3 separate regions of the Homo sapiens genome follow, and all the other regions are linked to region 3. The links are contacts of gene promoters, found by promoter capture Hi-C in blood cells and fetal thymus (Javierre and others, 2016). All regions are on one chromosome and are shown on one strand. The core of a region is centred on a gene start or on the middle of the fragment in contact, and the rest is flanking DNA. Distances in the headings are between cores, read along the strand shown.

Region 1 (4,588 bases), core at 1,936-4,435, 490 kb after region 3:
TTAAATTGGCTTTGCATTCTGGGATAATCTCCACTTGTTCAAGATGTATTATAGATTGAATATATTCTGCATTAAATTTGTTAACCTATCTTGTTGAGGTTTTTTTGTCTATATTCATGAGGAATATTGGTTTGCAGATTCTTTTCTTAGAAATTGTTGTCTAATTTTGGTATCAGGAAATGCTGACCTCATAATATGGGTTAGAAAATATTCCATATTCTTTTTTTCTAAAAAAGGTTGTACAGAATTGATATGATTTTTCCTTAACTGTTTGGTAGAATTTACCAATGAAACCATCTGGGCCTCTTTTTTTGTTAGAAGTTTTAAAACTATGAATTCAATTTCTTTAACAGATTTAGGACTATTCAGATTATCTGTACCTCTGTGAGTTAGTTTTGGTCATTTGTTTCTTAGAAGGAAGCAGCCCATTTCTTCCATAGGGTTGAATTTATGAGCATAGAATTGCTCACAGCATTCCCTTATCATTTCCTTAATGTTTGTGGGATCTGTAGTGATGTTTGATATTGGTAATTTTTGTCTACTGCCTTTTTTTCTTGGTTAGTTTGAAGAGCTTTTTTTATTTTTCTTTTAATTTTGTTAATTTTTTCAAGAAACCAACTTTTTGTTTCTTTGATTTTCTAATTTTTAACAAATGTTTTAAATTGTGTTGATTCCTGCTATCTTTATTATTTTTCTCCTCCTACTTGCTTTGTTTTTTTAAATTAAATCTCCATTTCTTAGATCTAAGAATTTAATGATATAAATGCCACCCCCAGCTACTGCTTTAGCTGTTCCCACAAATTACGTTTTATAACTATTTTTGTTCAGTTCGAGATGTCATTTCTAAAGACTTGGCCTAATCTTAGATCCTGAAGATGTTTTCCCCGTGTCCTTTTTTCTAGAAGTTTTATAATTTTGTTTGACATTTAAGTCTATGATCTGTTTGGAATTAACGTTTGCATAAGGTGTGAGATCTAGGTTGAGGTTTATTTATTTATTTATTTATTTATTTTGAGATGGAGTTTCGCTCTTGTCGCCCAGGCTGGACTGCAGTGGCATGATCTCGGCTCACTGCAACCTCCACCTCCCAGGTTCAAGCGATTCTCCTGCCTCAGCCTCCAGAGTAGCTAGGCCTACAGGCATGTACCACCATGCCTGGCTAATTTTTGTGTTTTTAGTAGAGACGGGGTTTCTCCATGTTGGCCAGGATGTTCTCGATTTCCTGACTTTGTGATCTGCCCGCCTTGGCCTCCCAAAGTGCTGGGATTACAGGCGTGAGCCACCACACCCGGCCGGTTTATTTATTTTTCGCCTATGAATGTGCAATTCTTGTGACACCATTTATTGAAAAGGCTATTCCTCCTCTATTGAATTGTTTTTGCTCATTTGCCAAAAATCAGTTGAATATGTCTGCAGGTCTTTGTATGGGTTCCCTGTTCTGTTCTATTGTTATATGTGTTAATGTCTCCATTAGGACCACACTTTCTTGATAGCTATAGCTGTATAGTGAGCTTTAAGATCAAGAACAGCTACTCCTACTTTACATTTCTTTTTTTGAATTGTTTTGGCTATTCTTGGGCCTTTATTTTCCATACAAAAATTGAAAACAAACTTCTTTATGCCTATTGAAAACCTTGCTGACATTTGGATAGAAATTGCATTAAACCTATAGATCTAATTAGGAAGAATTGGCATCTTTATTGTGTTAATTCATCTATTCCATGAATACAGTATGTCTCTCTGAGTATTTAGGTCTTTGATTTATTTCATCAGAATTTTATAATTTCAGCATGCAGCTCTTGTACCTGTTTAAGTATATACTAAGTATTGTAATTTTTTGGAGCAATTGTAAGTGGTATTGCACTTTTTATTTTGGTTTTCACCTATTTGTTGTCAGTGTGTAGAAACGCAGTTGGTTTTCATGTGTGGACTTTGCATCTTTTGACCTTAGTAGGCTTACGTACTATTTCGCTTTTTGTTTTTTGTGTATGGTAAGCCCTCCATATCTGCAAGTTCTGTGTCTGTGGATTCAACCAACTATGGATTGAAAATATTTGGGAAAAATAAATGGTAAAAATCATAACAATACAACAATAAAATATAATACAAAACTTAAAAGATATAACAACTACTTATGTAGAATTTACATTTTGTTAGATATCATAGGTAATCTGGAGATTATTTAAAGTATACATGAGGATTGTATAGGTTATGTGCAAATACTATGCCATTTTATACGATACTTGAGCATCCTCAGATTTTGGTGTCCATGGGGTTGGGAGTGGATCCTGGAACCAGTCCCCCACAGATACTAAGGGACAACTGTAGTTCTCAGGATTTTCTATGTAGATAATTGGGTAGTCTGCAAATAGACAGTAGTATTTGTTTGTTTGTTTTTTCCAACCTCTATGACTTATTCCTTTGCCTTATTGCAGCGGATAGAACTTCCAGTACTACATTGAATAGGTATGTTGAGAGCAGACATACTTGCCTTTTTCCCAATCATAAAGGGCAAGAATTCAGTCTTCTCCCATTAAGTATGATGTTAGCTGCAAGCTTTTTGTACATGCTCTTTATGAGATTGAGAAAGTTTCATTCTATTCCTAATGTACTGAATTTTTATACTGAATGAAGGTTGCATTTGCCAAATCCTTTTCTGTGCAAATTGATATGCTCATATGATTTTTTTTCCAAATTTTGAACCAACTCTGAATACATAGAATGCCACTTGGTCATGATGTATTATTCATTTTATACTTTGTTGGATTAAATTTGCTAATATTTGTTGAGAACTTTTGTGTCCAGGTTCATGAGAGATGTTGGTCTGTAGGCTTTTTGTGTGTGTGCTGTCTTTGTCTGCTTTGCGTATCAGTGTAATACTGGCCTCATAGAGTGAGTTGGGAAGTATTCCCTCCCCTTCTATCTTCTGGAGTGGATTGTGTAAAACTTGTGTTAATTCTCCTTTGAATGTTTGATAAAATTCTCTAGTGCGGCCAGGCACGGTAGGTCACATCTGTAATCCCAGCACTTTGGGAGGCCAAGGCAGGCAGGATCACCTGAAGTCAGGAGTTCAAGACCAGCCAGGCCAACATGGGAAAACCCCGTCTCTACTTAACATACAAAAACTAGCCGGGCATGGTGACAGATGCCTGTAATCCCAGCTACTTGGGAGGCTGGGGCAGGAGAATCACTTGAACCCAGAAGCAGAGGCTGCAGTGAGCTGAGATGGCGTCACTGCACTCCAGCCTGGGTGACAGAGAGAGACTCTGCCTCAATAAATAAATAAATTAATGAATTAATTCTCTAGTGCAACCATATGGACACAGATACTTCTTTTCAGGGGCTTTTTAATTACAAATTCAATTTCTTTAATAACCATAGAACTATTCAGGTTGTCAGTTTCATCTTGGTAGAGTTTTGGTAGTTTGTGGTTTTTGAAAAAGTGTTCATTTTTTTCTAAACTGTAGAATTTATGAGCATAAAGTTTTTCATAATATTCTCTTATTGTCCTGTCAGTGACTGCAAGAGATGTTGTAATAGGCCCTGTTTTGTACTTGATGTTGGTAATATGTGTCTTTTTACCTTGCAAATCTTGCTAGAAGTTTGTCAATTTTATTGATTCTTTTTAACAACCAGCCTTTTGTTTTATCAATTTTCTCTATTGTTTTACTATTTGAATTTTATTAATTTCTGTTCTTTATTATTTACTTCTTTCTGCCTGCTTTGAGTTTATTTTGCTCTTGAGTTTATTTTTCTAGGTTCTTGAGGTAGGAACATAAATTATAGTTTTGGCATATTTTTATTTTATTGTAAGTAAGCTTTTAGTACCATAAATTTTCCTGCCAGAATTATGTTGGTACATCCCACAAATTTTAAACAAAACAGCTTAATTTTCATTCAGTACTATTTAATTTTTAATTTTCTTTGTGATTTAACTTTTGGGCCATGAATTATTCAAAGCATGTTTTAAAATTTCCAAGTGTTTGTGGAAATTTTCATGTTGTCTTTCTGTTATTAATTTCTATTTTGATTCCACTATAGTCAGAGGGCATACTCTGTATGATTTCAAATCTTTTAAATTTGTTAAATGTTGTTCTGTGACTCAAGATATGGTCTATTTATGCACATTTTCAATGTTTGTTTGAAAAGCATATGCAGTCTTTTGTTGGGTGGAGTATTCTATAAATCTCAATTAGATCTGGTTAGTTGATGGTATTGTTCAATTCCTCTCCGTCCTTGCTGATTGGTTAGTTGTTCTGTCAATCATTAAGAGCGGGATATTGGGCAACACTCAGTCTCCACCCAAACTCTACCATGTTGAGTTCTGTGGGTCATGTCTGCTGCCTCAGCCTCCAGGGCCTTGCAGGAACTCAGCCCGTCAGTGTTGCTACTCCAAGCTCAGGTCTTGCCATGGGCCACTCTGGCAGCAATCCAATCTACCAGGAAATATGGGCACAAACATCACCTTTGCTGAAGACAGGCACCACCACTGGGTGTATTGTGGTGGTCATTGATGCAGTAGTGGATATCCAGTTTGATGAGGGACTACCATCTATTTTAAATGCCCAGCAAGTACAAGGCAGGGAGA
Region 2 (4,687 bases), core at 1,463-3,962, 460 kb after region 3:
AATGACTGTGGAGGGCTGGGCGCCAGTGGCTCACGCCTGTAATCCCAGTACTTTGGGAGGCCGAGGTGGGTGGATCACGAGGTCAAGAGATGGAGACCATTCTGGCCAACACTGTGAAATCCCATCTTTACTAAAAATACAAAAATTAGCTGGGTGTAGTGGCGGGCGCCTGTAGTCCCAGCTACTCGGGAGGCTGAGGAAAGGAGAATTGCTTGAACTCGGGAGGCGGAGGCTGCAGTGAGCCCAGATCGCACCACTGCACTCCAGCCTGGGCGACAGAGCGAGACTCTGTCTCAAAAGAAAAAAAAAATGACTGTGGAAAAGCACAACAAATCTATTGAGGAATTATATTTCGTGTATTTGGACCCCTAATTATGGAAACACCAAAAATACCTGGGCAAAAATGGCAGAGTTAAGGACCTTCAAAACTTCTCCTTCATAGAAGGCATAAGGACCTTATCAGAATCAACCTTTTTCATAACTCTAGAAATTAACCCAAGGTGTGCAGCAATCTGGGAAGTGTTTATTCAAGAAAAATAATTAAATCTCAGTAAGAATAGTGAGCTGGTGGCATTTTAGCTAGTCCTATTCACATTCCCCAGCTCCAGCTCCTCACTAACCTTAAAAACGAACAGTTTGTGATCACAGTGGAAACCACAGGCTCACAGCCACTGGAGGGGGCAGGATGGGGTTGGAGTTCCTTCAAAGCTTCATTTCCAGATAATTCTCATTATGTGACCTGTTCACTGGCTCTCTGGAAGACCCCAGTTACAAAGCTTTCTTTATTTGACTTCACTCAGTTCTTCCTCAGTGGGAAAAGCCTTTTCCCTGGGAACCGTTGTCAAAAACAATGAGAGGTGATTGATTAATTTTGTGGCTGACTAAGGTTGTAGATAACAGTCAGGACAAACAAGAGGTAAACCAAAACACTTAAGATGAAAAACTGGGGAATGGGATGTCCATTGGTCTTTCCAAAGCTCTGAGGTATTCCTGGGAATCTATCATGCATAGCCCAGGCAGGCACATGCACAGGGCTGTGGGCATGCCCAGGCTATGCATATGTTCAAAAAAAGACTCAGGAGGGCCCTAAGCTCTCATCTTGGGCTGACCCTGAGGCTCTGCACAAGCAGGAAGTAAAGGCTGAGGGAGAGTTGTTAACTGCTACAGCATGGAAAGTGTGGCCTGATACACACACAGCTCCTCAGCAAGGAATAGTCCAAAAGATTTAAGGAAATCTCTGTTCAATTATTAGCTGACCACTGAGTTAACTGAGCAGAGACTCCAGTGGCTACAAATGATAAAGAATGCAGATTTTACAGAATTCAGGAGTGATAAACAAACAACCACCAAATCACAACAAACTCTGGGCAGGTGGGAGAATCTGATTTCCAGAGTTGCTGCATTTTATTATTTAAAATGTCCAGTTGTCAACAACAACAAAAATGAGGCATGCAAAGAAATAAAGTATGGACCATACAAAGGAAAAAAAGCAATCCATAGGAACTGTCCATGAGGGAATTGTCCATGAGGAAACTGTCCATGTCCAGGAGGAAGCCCAGACATTGACCTTACTAGATAAAGATATTAAATAAGCGATTTTAAATATGTCAAAGAACTACAGGAAACTATGTCTAAAGAACATAGGAAGTATAAGAACACTGTCTTACCAATTAGAGATATCAATAATGAGAGAAATTTTATTTAAGAAGCAAATAGAAATTCTGTAGTTGAAAAAAGTTCTGGAGTACAAAGTATTGAAATGAGGAACTGACTAGAGGGGTTCAACACCCCGATTTGAGAAAGCAGAACAAACCAATGAATTTTTAGATAGCTCAATTGAGGTTACCCAGTCTGAAGAACAAAAGGAATAAAGAATGAAAAAAACCAAACAGAGTCTTAGAGACCAATGGCATACCATAAACATAACAACATGTGAACAATGGGAGTCCCCAAAGGATGGGGGAGAGAGAGAAAGAATATTTGAAGATGTAAGGGCTGGAAACTCCCTACATTTGATGAAAACATTAATTTACCCATCCAAGAAGCAAAATGGATTCCATGTAGGATAAAAGACACCCACACCTAGACACATTATAATCAAGCTGTTGAAAGCCCGTGGGGTGCTCCAGAGAACATTTACCTGATCTCCACAATGAATCCGTTTGGTAGAATGTTGGTGGGTTACCATCCTCCATCTCCTTCATTCCCTCCTCCCCATTTCTTGGCTCCCCTGCAGTGCCAGGCAGATATGCTTATTGCATGGTACTTTAGCAAGTGTAGGTTGACAGCAGGTTTAGTTAGCAACTGCAGCAAAGGGCTTGACTGCTCAGAGACGAGCTTCTCTCTCACACCACACTGTCGCCACCTGGCTCCCGGATCTCAGATTGGGATGGGCTTCATCTTACCTTCAGAGAACCCACAGCCCTTGCAGCTGCTCCATGCTGAACCGGCTCACAGGGCTGAAACCTCACTCATCTCACCAGCAGGCGAGACCACATTTCTTTTCCTGACAGTTGTTATGTTTCTCCCTCCTTTCCCAGCTGTCCTCAATTCTGGTTTCCTTCCTTCTTTTCTCCCCTCCCTTCCTTCCTTCCTTTCTTCTGTCCTCCCTTCCCTCCCTCCCTCCCTTCTATCTTTCCCTCCTTTCCTCCCTCCCTCCCTCATCATCACCACTTAACATGTGAATTTCAGGTCACTCAGTCTAAATTTCCTTAACTCCATCAATCCTGTCTCACTTCCTAATCTCAATTGTTCCATATTATACCAAACATCTCCCTCCCTCCCTCCCTCCTTCCTTCCTTCCTTCCCTTCTTCGGTCTTCCCCTCCCTCCCTTCTTTCTCTTCCTCCCTCCTTCCTTCTTTCCTTCTGCCTTCCTTTTCAGCTAATTCACAGCATTCTTTTCCTGTACCACTCCCCATGTGGTGGCCAAGAGTTTGTTCATTGTCTCATGGCACCCATGATCACAGGGGTTATGGTCTCTCAAATACAAGCCCTCTAAAATGTTCTATGCAGAAAGACTCTGGGGCTAAATAGCTTTGGGAATCTTGCTTGTGGTAAGCCCCACTGCCCATTCCCCTAAGAAAGTCTTACAGAAGTCCTGTGATCAAGAATCCTTTGAAACTTTCCTTTCAAGCTCCCCAAACTTTTTGTCTAAGGAGCCCTCTTCCTGAGTAGAAGCCACTGACATGCAGTGGAAGCAGTTTCTGTGGGACCCACTCTTGGAAACATCAGACTTGGTCTAGAGTTCCAGTTTATTCATACGCTGACAGCCCCCCTGAAAGGCATGTGGGGCTAGCGTGGCAGGAATGAGGTGCCAGGCAAGTAACATTCAGTGGAGGAGGCTGGGAGAAGAGAGTTATGGTGGTGAGAAATCCCTGATGGCTGTGAGCCCCTCTGGAGCTGAACCTGGAGGGTGGGTGGATGAGGGACAGGAAGAGGAGTGGGCACTGATACCTATGCCCAATTTATCTATTTGTGTGTGGCCCTGGCTATAGCAGGGATGGTTTTCAAAAGCATTTTCCCAGTAGGTCTTTTTCATTGAAAAATGTTCTGAGATTGACAAGTGGGATGGGGAGGACAGGGCTGGTCAATTCTGTGGCATAGATGTGCTCCCTTCTCATAACAGAAAGAACATCTTTAGCAATCTGTCCTGTGGAATAGGAAAGCCATGTAATCAGGATTAGCTGTGAGCTCATACTTCTATAATAAATGAATTCTCTGTGGGTGAGAATTCATGTAACATTTTTAATTAAGATAACTGCAGGGAAAAGGAAAGGACCCCTTAGTAAGTGACGCTAGTGAATGGATGATGCCCTTCCCTGCCCCTCCCAGGAAAATGAGACTCAGCCACTAATTGGTGTAATTAGCACTGGAAGTTAAAAGATTTCCCTCCTTTTTTTTTTTCTCCTTTCTTTAGCTTTAGAGTGCCTGGGTTCTTTGGTTTTGATTGCTTGGTCATCCTTTCTTTCCTCTATGAAAGTTCAGGTGGCTCTGGCGGCTTGCCTGAACCCCCTTTTCAGATGGTAATTGGGAGCCTGAATCCTGCCCTCAGGACTGCACCGCCTGGTCCACTGTGAAGTTGGAGTCAGAAGTTAGTCTCTGACTCTTTCAAAACCCTTGCGAGGATTGGTTCGAATGTGTTTTTAGGAAGTTCTGTGGTACACTTGAATTTATACTTGATAGAGGGCTCTTAACTTTTTTAAAAGAAGGCAGCCCAAAACAGAGCAGAAGGGTATAATAAGGTGTGTGTTGCTATGGAAATAATTGAATGAAAATTTAATTTCCTACTGCACCTATTGATCAGGAAAAAAAAGGGAGAGGAGAAAAGGAAAGGTCTTCCTAAGCAGAAACACAATGAATGGGAATATAATTAATAATAATTGAAGAAAATGTCACCCCAAGGGTTTCTCCAAGGAGGCTGATCTCCCTGACAGAAATGGCGGCATCCTCTTTTTGCTGCTTCTTTGTGATGGGAGAGAGTGTGCAGGCGAACCCCAGGGACTCGGAGCTCTGAGAAGCCTCTGGCTTGAGCTCCCGGAGAAGCGTGAAAAAATGTTTTGTGATTCATGGAAAAGCCAGCTCCAGGTGTCGGGGATGCTGCTCTGAGGGGCTTTTGATGCAAGGTTGGTTTAAAGTTCAAAATCCAGAACAAGCTTCTTTGAGAAGTCCCCACTCTAGTAGGTTTCA
Region 3 (4,812 bases), core at 1,333-3,832:
TTGGCATGAGTAGAGTGAATGTTTACCCCAACCCGATGAGGCAAAGGCACCGCAACTTTCCTAGCCCACATTTCCATCCGTTTGCCCTTTACTGTAAACATTCAAAAGATGCATCCACCTCCTTCCACTCTGGCAGAACAGAGGACCTTATCTGCATGCCAATCTCGGATTATCTGTAGCCCAATCTCAGAGCTGTCTGAGCACTGGGCTTTGTAGTTTCCAGACCAGCCTCTGGGACAGGAAGTGGGGGGCTCAAGGGTTGTAGGGCCAGTGCCTTGCAGAGGCTGGGAATCCCCTTCTCAGGACCTGAAGACCCTGGAAACTGGAAGCCCCCCACCCACACAGAGGCACCCTGTCCCATAGCTGGCTCAGCTTCCAGCTCCCTGGGGCGCTGGCCTCCTTCGGGGAGATATTTTACAACCAAAGTTTTCTTCTTTTATGTCCAGCAGCACGTGGGTGGGGTCAGGCTGCCTGGGCTGCAATCCCACCTGGCCACTTGGCATCTCTTAACCTCTCTGGGCTTTACTTACCTTATCTGGAAAATAGGTTGAATGGCTTATTAATTGTGATGTGCGTACAGCAATGTCTGGCACATAATCAGTGCGACTCTCATTATTGTAGTATGAATGTGATTTGATGCTGTAATTTCTCCTCTCTTCAGGGTGCCGGTGTCTTTTTCTCTCAATACTCCAAGAAATGAGCGTCCAGCATGGATGTGAAGGGATGCTTGCTGCACCTGGAGTTTCAAGATGCCGCTGGGGAAAAGGGAGGCTGCTAGCAAACACCATTTTGGAGGGGGCTGTATGAAGGAGAAAAGTAGCCTAGAGCCGGAACTCAGATTTTCTAAAGGGGATTCAGGCGGCCAGAGGATAGTAGAGGGCCAGAAAGGAGGTCCCCAAGGAGGCTTCGGGGTAGGGTGTGAGGGGATCCTCAGGCAGACTGGGGAGCTGAGCCTGTTGTAACCGAGCGAGTTACAGAGAAACGCCGCACTTTGAGACGAATTCAGGGGTCCTTTATTAGCTGGCGACTGAGAGACAGCTAGTGCTCAAAATTCTCTCAGCCCCAAAGAAGGGGCTTGATTTTCTTTTATACTTTGGTTTAGAAAGGACAGGTGGGGGTCTAAAACAATCTTACAGAAGTAAAGCAGGCAAAAAGTTAAAAGGATAAATGGTTACGGGAAAGCAAACAGTTCCAGGTGCAGGGGCTTAAAATCTATCACAAGGTGATAGACACGGGGCTTTGGGCGTTATCAACCGGACACAAACGCCGGGGCTCTGGGTGCTATTAACCGGGCGAATTCCTGGGAACTGCGGATATAGCTTGCCACAGTATCTTATCAGTTAATTGCATTCTTGGATGTGCTGGGAGTCAGCTTGCACAAATTAAGTCCTTGAGGAAGCGGGGTGGGTAAGGGGCTGCAAATGAAAGAGCCAAGATGGAGTCTGTCTGGCTCTCTTAGCTAAGGGAGAGTCAATTCAGGTTAAAACAAGGTAGGGTATCACAAGCCCACTTAACAAGGGCAGCAGGACCCCAAGAAGAAAAGCTTTAGGAGTCTCCACAGTGGGCCCAGGGCAGTTCCACACAGGTCTCTGAGGCCCCACAGACAGGAGAGCTGTGACGACTCCCTTAGTGCCCAAGAAAGCAAGGAGGTGGTGGGCAAGGGGCTCCCAGAGGCCTTGGGGCACTAGAGGGGAGATGGAGCCGAGGGAGTGGCTCTGCAGGCCCCTCTCTGAGAGAGTGCATGAGGTGTGGCCCCAGGCCCAAGGGTAGGGGGTGCACAGGGTGAGGGAAGGGAGGAGAGGAAGAGGAGGAGGAGGTGGTGGCCACAGCGGGATGGCACTCAGCCAGGTTCAGCTTCGTGGGAAAGGTCCCAGGTGGGCCGGGCTAGCACTGGGGATGCCCTGGCTCTGTGTCTCGGTTGGGTGGCTGACTCCTCCTGGAACGCATCCCTGACATCCTCCAGGCTGGCTTGGGGATACTCTGGGGACACACAGTGCCCAGGCTTCCGGCCTCCCAGCCCTGGCTCCCTGTGGACTCAGCTGCCCCCAACAAGCCTGCGAGCCACTGGAGAGCAAGGGCAGGCTGTCCTTGCCATCCAGATGCCTGGCACAGAAGGGGTTCTCACCTTCGGGGTATGGGCTGACTCAGTGGGTTTCTCCTCCCTCCAGCTCTAACCTGCCTGTGGAATAAACAAATCACTCCTCTGGGTTGTCTAGCTGGTGCAGGCCCCAGGGCGACGCCCCTTTGAGGGGAAAATGGGGGCATTCCAGTTTCCATGAGCCCTGGGACTCCCCTCCTTCCCACCACTGCTGCCTACCCTCCGGTTCCAGGTATGCAGGCTTCCTCCCTTCTGACGGTTCCTGCTGCTGGAGTCGTCCTTCCTGAAACCCTGCCTTTGCTTAGCCTCATTCCCATCTCTCAGTCCCATCCTGCAGCTGGGCAGGCAGTGCTGGGCCCCGGAAATGCCCTCTGCCTCCCTGGAGCACGTGGCCTGTGATTTTCCTTGAGCACAGCACTTTGTGACTTTGATGTAAACATCAAACACAGCCCCCTTTCCTGTCTTCGCATCCAGGAAATAGGTTAGTTTCAGACAAGCCTGCTTGCCGGAGCTCAGCAGACACCAGGCCTTCCGGGCAGGCCTGGCCCACCGTGGGCCTCAGAGCTGCTGCTGGGGCATTCAGGTAAGCGGCTGTCCTCGGGCCTTCTGCCTGTGTCCTGCCACCAGGGCCACCCCAGGGGGCTCTGGGAGACCTGGCAGAGGATGAACCCCCCCCATCCATGAGTGAGAAACCCTGGCGGGGTGTGACATCCTCCCCCGGGGTGTGTGCGGAGAGTGTGAGCGGCAGGGCCTCCCTCTCAGGCTGGGGGCTTGGGCTGCAGGGAAATCCAAACCGGCTTTGTAAGCCCCGATTCCTCACCCAGAACCGGCTCTCCATTGGCATTGGGACCAGAGACCCCGCAAGTGGCCTGTTTGCCTGGACATCCACCTGTACGTCCCCAGGTAAGTGGTGCCTGGGTGGAGTGGCACCTGGCCACCGTCTCCATGGTGGGCTGTGTCTGGAGGAGGAAGACAGAATATTAACTGGGAGTCAGGAGGTTGCTGGGAGGACCAGGAGAGCTGGAGGACTGGGCTGGGTGGTGACTGGCTGGAGATGGAGGCAGACGGGGCTTGTGGCCACGCTGAGGGAAGCAGCTCCCCCTCCAGAGGCTTGGCCGAGCGGGGCTGTTCAGGGGACACGGTGAGGCCTGCTCAGTCCCTGGGCTCCTGCTGGGCCCTGTTTGGCTGCATCCTTGGCTCTCGGAGGCAGAGAAACCTCCAGAGAAAGCGCATGTGCACTCTGTGAAGATGAGGGGGCTGCTCACCAGGGCCGTGAGCTCCATCAGCAGAATGCTGTGATTCCTGTGAGGAGTCCAGGGCAGGCTTGAGCCACTTGTAGGCGAGCTCAGGTTAGAGGAAGACCTGGAGAGAGAAAGAGCAAAACACCGAGTTCTCCTCAACTGCTGTGTGTTCTCGGCAAGTTGCTTGGCCTCTCTGACCTCAGTTTGTGCATCTGTTAAATGCACATGCAGATATGGGCACCTGGCAGGCGCCTGGTTCCTGACTGTTGGCGAGAGGCTGGGAAATGTGTCCCAGGTAGGAAGCATCCCCGACAGGAAGGAACAGGAGTTCATGAGGTGAGCAGCTCGAGATGATTCATTACTCTCGTCTTGGTTGGAACAGTAGGCAGACAGGAGGTGTTTAATAATGCCTTGCTGAGAGATCAGGGTCAGGGACTCCTAAGGTGCCACCTGTGAAGCTGCCTCCTGCTGAATCCAGAGCTTCCTTTTCCTCTTCACACCTGCCCTCCATCCTCAGCCCCACTGCCCTGGCAGTGTTGCGGGGGTGGTGTTGATGTGCACACTCTGGAGCCTGGGGGCCTGGCTTCACATTCTGGCTCTGCCACTCACCAGCTGTGTGACTGGACCAGTCACCGCATCTCTCTGTGCTTCCCTCCCAGGGCTCTCGGGAGGATAAAGAGAGTGACTGTATCCACACTGCCCGGCACATACAGGTGCTGCAGAAAGGTCTCACTAAAACCCTCATTATCCTCACTAGCTCTGGGTGGCCTCGGGCTCTGGACTCCACAGTTCCTGTATGCTCTCCGGGGCTGCAGCACCCAGACCACCCCGTGCTGACCACTCCCTGCCCCACCCCAAGGTACAGGGTTAAGGCAGCCATTCTCATCAGAGCCAATTTTACCTCCTCCCGTCTCCCTGGGACAGTTGATAGTGCCTGGAGACAGTTTGGGTTGTGACCCAGCGGGTGTTACTGGCATCCAGCATGTCCAGGACAGGAATCCTGTGAACAGCCTACAAGGCCCAGGACAGTCCCACCCTGTTCCATTGTCTCTATCAGCCCCTATCCTCCTGACTCACACCGCCTTTTCCCATCTCCCTTTTACAGTCACAGAGCCTGAGGCCCAGAGAGGGACCGCTGCTTGCTGAGGTCACACAGGCAGTGGAGGCCGGAGTTGGGGGCCTCACTGGAGGGGCGGTGGAAGGGCATTGTTCAATCAACAGACACTTGGAGAGTGTGCTGGGTTGGGGAATCTGACCCTGACCCCGCACCAGCCCAGCTCTCCAGGGTCTCCTAATAGACATTTGCTGGAGTGGTTAGTGCTGGCTGCTGCATTGGACAGACCTGAGTTCAAATCCTGGTGGCCCCTTGCAGGCTGCATGTTCTGAGAGTGACATTGACCTCTCCGAGCCTCAGTTTCTTTAGCTGAGGAGTGGGATAACAGTTCCCACCAAATGTAGTTGTGGTGAGAATTA

The links. Contacts are between HindIII fragments. The CHiCAGO score rates a contact against its expected background, and 5 or more counts as called.
Region 1: a fragment that was not itself captured here is called in contact with the fragment with the promoter of ZAP70 in region 3 in 2 of 17 cell types (erythroblasts and endothelial precursors); the score reaches 5.5 in erythroblasts.
Region 2: a contact is called between a fragment that was not itself captured here and the fragment with the promoter of ZAP70 in region 3, in 1 of 17 cell types (erythroblasts). The highest score is 5.4, in erythroblasts.

The regions. Positions count from the first base shown.
Region 1 is chr2:98,201,837-98,206,424 of GRCh38, forward strand. The region is part of intron 12 of VWA3B (von Willebrand factor A domain containing 3B); the gene reads left to right. It also overlaps the pseudogene ATP5F1BP1. Among named protein-coding and RNA genes, the nearest start is that of VWA3B, 120 kb to the left of the region's middle. The HindIII fragment of the contact is 1,262 bases long and covers 2,555-3,816 here.
Region 2 is chr2:98,173,672-98,178,358 of GRCh38, forward strand. The region is part of intron 8 of VWA3B (von Willebrand factor A domain containing 3B); the gene reads left to right. Among named protein-coding and RNA genes, the nearest start is that of VWA3B, 89 kb to the left of the region's middle. The HindIII fragment of the contact is 3,877 bases long and covers 775-4,651 here.
Region 3 is chr2:97,710,994-97,715,805 of GRCh38, forward strand. It overlaps ZAP70 (zeta chain of T cell receptor associated protein kinase 70), which reads left to right and starts at 2,583. Exons shown (of 14, transcript NM_001079.4): 1 at 2,583-2,681; 2 at 2,923-3,001. RefSeq lists a silencer at 228-417 and enhancers at 2,391-3,364, 4,596-4,812. The HindIII fragment of the contact is 8,251 bases long and covers 1,542-4,812 here.